3 separate regions of the Homo sapiens genome follow, and regions 2 and 3 are each linked to region 1. Evidence: promoter capture Hi-C in human tissues and cell types (Jung and others, 2019). All regions are on one chromosome and are shown on one strand. The core of a region is centred on a gene start or on the middle of the fragment in contact, and the rest is flanking DNA. Distances in the headings are between cores, read along the strand shown. Region 1 holds the start of S1PR3 (sphingosine-1-phosphate receptor 3). Region 2 overlaps LOC105376134 (a long non-coding RNA gene). Region 3 has its middle 54 kb from the start of NXNL2.

Region 1 (2,868 bases), core at 10-2,509:
GCTGAGGGCTTGCGTTTCTCTGCAGGGAACAGGAGTGCCGCCGACTTCCACTCTTGGTGCCCTTCACCGCTCAAACTGCACCCCAAATAAGCGTATGCACCCTGCTCCAAGAGAAGGATGCGCTGGGCTGATCCTCTGGAGGCAAGAGGGCAAAAGACAGAAAGTAACGAGCGGCCTTTGCACAAACTCAACTCTCTGCAGCGGCCCCTGCGGCCCAATCCTGCCGGCCCAGGAATGCACGGTCGGATAACAGGCCTCTCCTTGCTTTTTCGTCTTCTTCCTCCCGCTTCTCTCCTCTCTCCTTTTCCTCCTCCTCCTTTTTCTTTAATTTTCTCCTTTCTCCCCAAGCTTCTACAGTTGTTTCTGTGTTCGCTCAATCATGGCCTTTGGCATTGATTGAAAATTTGGCAGTTCCTTCTCTCGGAATTCTGTTTGAAGCCTTCATATGGATTTATTATTATTATTATTATTTTTGCCACACAAAAGGGGCAAATCCGCGTGAGGAAGGGGGTCGCATGGGGGTCGGCTGAGATCTGCTGGCTGCCGGTCTAGGAGGGGCGCTGCTCTGTGCCGGAGTGGGCTCTGGTGCACCAGCAGAGGCTGGGGGAGAGTGCTGCCCCCGCCTGGAGCCCAAGTCTCTGCGTGCCTGGGGGTAGAGCGCGGAGAGGGACCAGGCAGGCGCCGGAGGGGACCCGCGCGGAAAAGGAAGAAGCCCAAACAAAAACGCTGTCCGGCGCCAGGCGCCCACCTGCAAGCCCAAGCCGGTGCTCGGCCAGTTACAAAAGAAATGGTCAGGATCTGGACAACGATAATGATAGTATTAATCCTCCTATTAAGAATCGGCCCAAACAAACCCTCGCTGTCAGGGCGACAGGCGCCCGCCCAAGCCCAGACCTCGGACCTGGTTCCAAGCCTGTTCCCGCTGGGTCTCTGGGCGCCCGGTTTCTGCACCTGGAGCTCGCCCGATGAGGACAAGGTCTGGAGGCCGGCCTGGGAACAGGGGCCGAAGGGCGAGCCGGACCCTAGGGGATTGGTAGGGTCGGGGAGAAGGGGTCCAGGCTAGGGGCGGGCGGGGCGCACGGAGACCAGGCGGCTTGAGCGGGAGGTGGGGAGCTGGAGGAGTGCCGGGTTCGCGGGCGGGGGACGGGGAGAGGGGGGCGGGGAGAGGGGCGGGAGTCGGGGGCGGCGAGGGGAGGGGCGGAGCGCGGGTCCCGCCCCGGCGGGCCGCTGGAAAAGTTTAGTCTCTGACTCGCTCGGGCAGAGGCCGAGGAAGCCGGTTCCGGGGACGGGCAACAGGGACTCAGGGACCAGAAGGCGGCTGCAGGACGCGACCGAGCAGGACCCCAGGCCCGGGAACGACGTCGCGAGCGCTGAGACTGCCGGGCCTCCCAGCCCATCTGGCATTCGAGCGCAGGACCGGGCGCCCCGGCACCGCCGCGCGCCACCCGCTAGGATGCCGGTGGCCCCAGCGCCCTCAGCCGACGGAGGTGAGAGGCGGGCCCGGGCGGGGCGCGGAACCAGGGTGGGGGGCTGGGGGCCGAAGGACCCACCTTTCCAACAAAATCCCCACCGATCCCGGGCGCGACGGGGACTTGGGCGCGCCACGGCGGCCGGAGCGCTCCACATCAGCACCCCTCCCCCAGAGCCGCTGCAGGAACAGGGAGGAGGCCTTTTCCACCGCACCCGGAGCGTTTACAACGGGCTGGAGCTGAATACCTGGATGAAAGTGGAGAGGCTGTTCGTGGAGAAGTTCCATCAGTCGTTTTCCTTGGACAATTAACAAGTTAGGCTTCCACAGTGCCAGGGCCTGGGGATGCTGGACGTGGGAGAGGGTTGTGGTCGTTAGCCTGGGAAAATCATTCTTTTAAACAATATTCGCCGGAAAATTAGTTTTTTCCTAACATTTCTCAAACAAGGCAATTAGGGCCGTCAGAATCGGTGCTGGAAGACGAAGTCCCCACAGTGCAATAATGAGGTTCCCACGGAAAATCAGTACGTTGTGTTCGTAACTGAGATAACAGCTAGAGAAGGGGCTTTGGGCTTTTTGAGTCTCCCAATAGTCAGTCTCTCTCTCTCTCTCTCTCTCTCTCTTCCTCTGACTTTCTGGCTTTGGACACTCCCAATGGTATATTTCTTTGTGGTGTTTTTATATTTGGATATAAGAGAGGAACTTCTTGTTGGATTTTTAAGGGAACACACTTCGTTTTGACCCTTCCAATAAGGAAAGGGGAGCTACAGGAACAGAGAGCTCTTTAGAAGGTTACTTTTAAATGGAGGCCCCCCCATTCATGGTACCCACTCCCACTTGGACCTCTGAGACCTCCAGAATTAGGCATCATTCTAAAATCTGGACATTAGAAGTCACAGACTTTGTATATAACCACATATTCATAATTTATCTTTTCAATGTTTTTTATTCATAGATGAAAATCTTGCAGGCATAGTTAAGAAAAATATAATTCCTAGAAAGTACAAGGGAAGGATTATGCTCTGCAGATACATGACTAACAAGGATAGCTGGCCATGCCCAGGGCTGGTGTTGGTTGAGGAGGTGGTGATGGTGCGGGGCATGTGTGTGTGTGTGTGTGTGTGCGCTTGAGGAGTTGTGGAAGTGTTCATATCTGTAAAGTATTATTTCATGGATGCAGACCTTAATGCTAGGTTGAATAACTTTGTTGCCATAGAAGAAGAACCGCACGTCAGGCTTTTTTCATTAGCAAACCAGTAAGCACTCACTTTGGGCCTCTGAAATCACTTCCATCACCTAACACCAGAGATACAAACTGAAGCTAGCCCTTAAGAGCCTCCCCCTAAGATTTAGAGAGAATGATTTCTCAACCAGTTTTCATCTTTGAAAGTGCCATTTCT
Region 2 (3,029 bases), core at 227-2,726, 460 kb before region 1:
CCCTAGAACTTGACAGTGGGGTCGGCTGTCTGCACCCAGTGACAGCCACCCTCATGGTGGCCCAACTGAGAAGCTCACTCTTCCCTCTCCCAACCTGCTGTGGCCCCGCTCCTGCCACCTCTTTCAAGGACCAGCCTCCTTACAAAGTCTTTCCCAGTCCTGCCCCTTGAAGAAACTCTCCTTCCTCCACACCTCTATTATGGGTTGTGCATCCCCCACAAAGATGAGCCATTCTGAAGTCCTAACTCTCAGGACCTCAAAATGTGACCTTATTTGGAAACAGGATCCTTGCAGATGTAATAGTTAAAGTTAGGTCACATTGGAGCAGGGTGGGCCGCTGACCCAATGTGACTGTGTTCTTATAAAAAGGAGACCGGTGAAGACCTAGGATTGGAGTGACACAGCCACAAGCCAAGGAACTCCAAAGATTGCTGCAGCCACCAGAAGCCAGGAAGAGGCAAGCAAGGACTTCCTAAGGTTTCAGAGGGAGCACGGCCCTGCACCACGCTGATGTCAGACTTCTGGCCTCTGGAACTATGAGATAGCCCATTTCTGTTGTTTGGAGCCACCCAGGTTGTCTTTGTTACAGCAGCCCTGAGGAACTAACCCAACCTCCATCCAGGAATGGATTGTATTTCCTGCTGCCAATGCTGGAGCAGGGTGGCTTCGTGGCCATGCAGCCCCTCAGAGGCACAGGGCCCTGCACTTGGGGTTTAGTGCTCTGTGATTGCTGTCTTGACATTCTTAATTATTTTATCAGGCTGGGCACGGTGGCTCATGCCTCTAATCCCAGCACTTTAGGAGGCCGAGGGGGGCGGATCACTTGAGGTCAGGAGTTTGAGACCAGCCTGGCCAGCATGGAGAAACCCCATCTCTACTAAAAATACAAAAAATTAGCCAGGTGTGGTGGTGGACACCTGTAGCCCCAGCTGTTTGGGAGGCTGAGGCAGGAGAATCACTTGAACCTGGAAGGTGGAAGTTGCAGTGAGCCAAGATTGCGCCACTGCACTCTAGCCTGGGTGACAGAGTGAGACTCTTGTCTCCAAAACAAAACAAAACAAAACAAAACAAAAAAAACTTTATTTTATCTTTGAATTTGTGTGGTGTAAGTGAGGCCTCATTGGACAGTGGAGCATACGTGAGCACTTGGAGCCTGCCTCATGTGTGCTCCCATCTGCTGCTGGTCCGCCACCTCTCCCAGGCACATTATTGACTGCTCGTCTCCCTCCCTTTGGTGTCCTGGGCCCCACATGGCCTCCCCATCCCCACCCTCACCCAGCAACCGCTGGTGCCCTCCATGGTCTGCGGGAACCTGAGTGTGTATGTGTGGAGGGGTGTGGGGTTGACATCAGATGCTTTTACTACACTACCCGTGGCATCTCAGGGTGGGCGTGGCCATGCAAGCAGCTGGTGGACTGTGTACCCACCAAGTCACTCGGCAGGGCCCCTGGGCAAGTGTGACAGTTGACACTCACCCTGTCCCAAGAAAGCATGATATTCAGTAGCAAATAAAAACACCATGATAGGTCAAAAGAGAGACCATGGAAGAAAGGGAAAAGCTTTCGTTTATTTTAGTTCCTTTGCTGGCCCATTCTTTTCCTGCTTTTTGAACAAGGGGCTCTGCATTTTTATTTTGCACTGGGCCTTTCAAATTTTGTGGCTGGCCCTGGTTGGGAGCTGCAAAGTGATGCTCCAACTTAGAAACGAGACACGGGATCCATCAGCTATGATACAAGATGAATTCCTGGTGGATTGGAACTCGGGCAAGCAGCCTCATGAAGAAACAAGGTATGCATGATGCTATTAGCAGGCAAGGGCCCTGGTCAGCTGAGACGGTCCTGCTTCCTCTGGATAGGGTATCCTGGCCACTGGAATATTTAAAACTAGGAAATTCAGAAAGTTATATTTGCACACTGGGATGTCTAATTTGTTTGTTATGCTGATCAGTGCAAAAAATCTTTTCCATAATTGTATTTGAATATTCATAAGTGTTGCTAGAAGAAAAAGTCAATTTCATGTCAAACCACCAAGGATCACATTTTCTTCACATGCTGCTCTTTTGCCAGGGAGAAGTGATTCAATGTATGTTGACAAAAAGCAGGACTGAGAAGAGCAGAACTGGTCCAAGAACTTATGAAATACCCACATTCAGGGAGACTTTCTCTAAGGAGAAACATCCCTCTTCAGAAGTCTGGGGAGCTTGCATACTGAGTAGAAAGGCAGAGCCGTACCTCCCTGGAGAGTCTCTGAAGACCTCATCTGCCCAGCCATCCAGCGTGAGCTCTGGAAACCTTCTGCCTTTTAGTCTATGTCAAGACTAGAAGCCAAGCAAGGTGTCACAGCCCTTCATAACTGTTAATGAGAAATAGAACTGAACACTATCCAAGGCAAAAAGACAGACTCTGTTGAGCACTACTGCAAAAGGAAAGCGCCGAGCACAATTCCCAACACAAGGACAAGTGGGGATTTACAGCCCAGGAACAGGGTGGAGGTGGGGGGTTGGCAGATGGAAAACAGAGGGGACCTTGACGGTAGGGGGGTATCTTGCTAAACTAACTTAACAGGACACCTGCTGCAGGCAGGCCAGGATGATTGGATACTAAAGGCAGAAGAGGACTTAACAGGATTCTTTGCTAAGACTGGCTCAGGCAGGCTGAGCACGGGGTCCAAGGATGAGGCCTAGCTGAAAAAAGTGCCGGAGGAGTCTGTCTGAAGTTGGTCAAGCAGTGAGTTATTATCGTGCTCTCGGGAGGAAATGCAGAAAGGACTACCCTTAAATCAGGGGCAGCGGGGAGGGGAGAGGGGCTCAGGGAGGGAGGGCAGGCCTGAGGGTGCCTTCACTGGGGTCTCTCCGGCCAGCATCTGGAGTGGGACTCACTGCCCAGTTTCCCTGTGGTTGTCCAAGGCAAGTAAAGCTGCTTACAGATGCCCACACTCATGTCACCTTTAGATGCCCTGGAAGGAAGTTTGGTATGAAAGTGGCTTTGCATATCCCAGCTAGGAAAGTAGGGGCCACCTAATCCTGTTTC
Region 3 (3,115 bases), core at 276-2,775, 510 kb before region 1:
TGCAGTGCCTGTGCTCCAAGTCCATGGAGGTTACTGAGGTGGACTGAAGGCAGGGTCTACTCCGGCTTAGGTGGAAGAAGGCTGCAGTTCAAGGAGGAAATGAGCCATTGGGAAGCACAGGTGCCTCTCTTGAGTCTGGGTTTTCTGACCTTCCTTGCTGAAGGTAGATTATTCGTTGTCTGTGTTATCTGTCATGGGTACAGCTCTGTAAATATTGCCCCAAAAGTATAACAATGCAAGTTTAGTCTGAAGTTTGAAACTTGATAACTAGTATTTGTAAACTAATGAATCAACTCTCCTATTTAAAGCAGTCATCACTCTGTTGGAGAATTTTTGTTTTTTCTCTTGGTACAATTAAACTCTGTGATGACAAAAGCATTTGGTACTAATAAAGCATTCATAAATGCTTAATAAGTACCTTGCCAAGCACTTTCCACACTATTTTGTTTAGTTCTTAATGGTCTTTTGAGGAAGAGGCAGAGATTGAGTATCTCACGCAGGATTATAGGGGAATGAAGACTCGGATCTCTATTTTGTGCCCAGACTCTGAGCTGCTTTATGAACACCTCAATTAAATTACTTCATTGGAGTGATTTGAGTAATCTATCTATAGTGTAATATTTTCTATGAATAATTTTCTGTAACCTTATTTCATAAGTTAATATCTAAAAAGTGTTTATTTCCAAATTGCCAAATAAAAGGTTTTATATTAGTCATTAGAATGTAGGCATCTGTGTCTCTGTATGCTAAGAATTATAACCCAAAATTATTTTTGTGCTTAAAAAATAAATGATGTCTCCACGATGGCACGCATATACTTATGTAACAAACCTGCACATTCTGCACATGTATCCCGGAACTTAAAAAAATTTTTTTTCCATAACTAAAAAAATAAAAATAATGATGTCTTTTTTGGAGAGAAAGTATGCTGAAGAAATTTTAATAACTTTTCATCACAAGAATATAGATACTTTATTTTAACTTTTAAATCTATTCATTTGCTTATTTATTTTGAGACTGGGTTATGAGACTGGCTAATTTTTGTATTTTTGGTAGAGACAGGGTTTCAACCATGTTGCCAAGGCTGGTCTCGAACTCCTGGGCTCAAGCCATCCACCCTTCTCAGCCTCCCAAAGTGCTGAGATTATAGGCGTGAGTCACGGCACCCAGCCAGATAACTATATTTTAAAGACACTTTGAATATATCATGAAAGTAATATCTTCATAAACCTAATTTTTTTAACCATACAGGAGACTTAAAAAGCCTAGATTTCTTTTGCTCATAACCTACAATCTTATGTTTAATTTTTATAGTAATGAGTTTGTTCTGTGTCATATACTGGTAAGTTTTAGGCAGCATGTGGAGTTGAGAGAATTCATTGAGTCTTTAAGTTACTTCTCCAGCCATTCCTAGAGTCTTCGTCTGCCCTTATGATTAGTTTTGGTAAACCAAGTAGCAGACGGTTTTTTAATAATGTCATGGCACATAAGTTTGCCTAAACATGACATTGGCATTCTTTCTGCTTAATTTTCAAGTGAGGGCCCTGGACCAAGTGGTGCGTCGGCCCCTGTCAGCTCTGAGGTGACACACAAGTGCGGGGCCTTGCTGTGCATTTGTTTTTTTACGTTGACTGTTCAGTGAGAGAGGAGGCTTACTCCTGGCTCTGCTTTTACCATCCTCTTTCTCATTATTTTCAGTGTATGCTTTCTGGAGGGAAAGTTAAGAGCTTTATATACCACACAAACTACCTAAAATCCTTAATAGGGTAAGCAGATTATACATAACTTTAAAATTGTCTGTTTCTATGTTGGAATTACTGAAGCAGATTATAATGTGAAAGGACAGAAAGCCTTTTAAAAACCTTTATGTTGGGCTGGGCGCGGTGGCTCATGCCTATTGTAATCTCAGGACTTTGGGAGGCCAAGGTGGATGGATCACAAGGTCAGGAGTTCGAGACCAGCCTGGCCAAAATTGTGAAACCCCATCTCTACTAAAAATACAAAAAAATTAGCCGGGTATGGTGGCGCACGCCTGTGATCCCAGCTACTCAGGAGGCTGAGGCAGAAGAATAGCTTGAACCCCGGAGGCAGAGGTTGCAATGAGTTGACATCGTGCCACTGCACTCCAGCCTGGACGACAGAGTCTGTACAAGACTCTGTCTCAAAAAAAAAAAAAAAAAAAAAAAAAAAACCTTGATGTTAACATAAGTAACAGTTGTTAACAACCCAGGGTTGAGTGGCAGCATTGTGAATTGTCTTCAGATACAGATCGTGAAAATAACTCTAAAGCTTTTTCCTCGAACTTGTCTTTCTGTGGCTTTGTAAAAAATTGGATAGCTGCTTTCCTTGGTCTTCCCTGCACCTGCACACCGTGTATACAAGTGTGAGCCTCTGGTCTTCTCATAGAAAAGTCTGATGACTGTTAGAGAAATGACATCAGCAGTAGGTCTTTTTCCTAAAGTCAGTCTTTATCCTGTAGTGTGTTTACTCTTTGTTTTATTTATTGGGGACCTGGTTTTAACAAAATGTTACTTCCAGTTTTTCTGTAATAACTATGGTAAAGTAGCTTTAACCACTAGATTAAAGTAGCCACTAGATTCTTAATTTAATCTAAATCTGATGGATGCTACTAAGGACAAAACTGGTCATTTTCAGAGCAGTCCTGTAGGGGAGAGCAGTGTGTCAAAGACAAGTAAGCACAGTGCAGGCCTATGCCTGGCACAGGGCTTGCCGCTGTTCTGCCGGCCTGTCATCATTGGGTGTCACTTAAGGCCTTACAATGTTTTGCTTTGTTTTTTTCTTTCTTTCTTTCTTTCTTTTTTTTTCCATAGAAGGCGTCTCACTGTGTTTCTCAGACTCATCCTAAACTTCTGGACTCAAGTGTTCCTCCCGCCTCAGCCTCCCAAAGTGCTGGGATTACAGGTGTGAGTAACCATGCCCGGCTGGCTTTATTTTTGATGTTTGAGATTACGCTTTCAGTTCCACACAGTCGATTTTGCTTGTTATATAATGTTCGTTTTTAGGAAGATTTTAGTTGTTACATTTTTTTAACAACACTAGCATCTTCCAGCGTATATAAAAATTGTAATAAGCAGTGTTAAGTTTCACATTTTCT

What was found. Contacts are between HindIII fragments. The study calls those that stand out against the background at their distance.
Region 2: a contact is called between a fragment that was not itself captured here and the fragment with the promoter of S1PR3 in region 1, in 3 of the 25 tissues and cell types used here (dorsolateral prefrontal cortex, lymphoblastoid cells and spleen).
Region 3: a contact is called between a fragment that was not itself captured here and the fragment with the promoter of S1PR3 in region 1, in 2 of the 25 tissues and cell types used here (dorsolateral prefrontal cortex and lymphoblastoid cells).

The regions. Positions count from the first base shown.
Region 1 is chr9:88,990,209-88,993,076 of GRCh38, forward strand. S1PR3 (sphingosine-1-phosphate receptor 3) reads left to right here and starts at 1,260. Exons shown (of 2, transcript NM_005226.4): 1 at 1,260-1,487. RefSeq lists a silencer at 806-1,100. The HindIII fragment of the contact is 13,055 bases long and covers 1-2,868 here.
Region 2 is chr9:88,526,413-88,529,441 of GRCh38, forward strand. LOC105376134 (a long non-coding RNA gene) reads right to left here. Exons shown (of 2, transcript XR_007061653.1): 2 at 1,548-2,352. Among named protein-coding and RNA genes, the nearest start is that of NXNL2, 7.3 kb to the right of the region's middle. The HindIII fragment of the contact is 4,513 bases long and covers 1-3,029 here.
Region 3 is chr9:88,479,432-88,482,546 of GRCh38, forward strand. No RefSeq gene overlaps it. Among named protein-coding and RNA genes, the nearest start is that of NXNL2, 54 kb to the right of the region's middle. The HindIII fragment of the contact is 6,311 bases long and covers 1-3,115 here.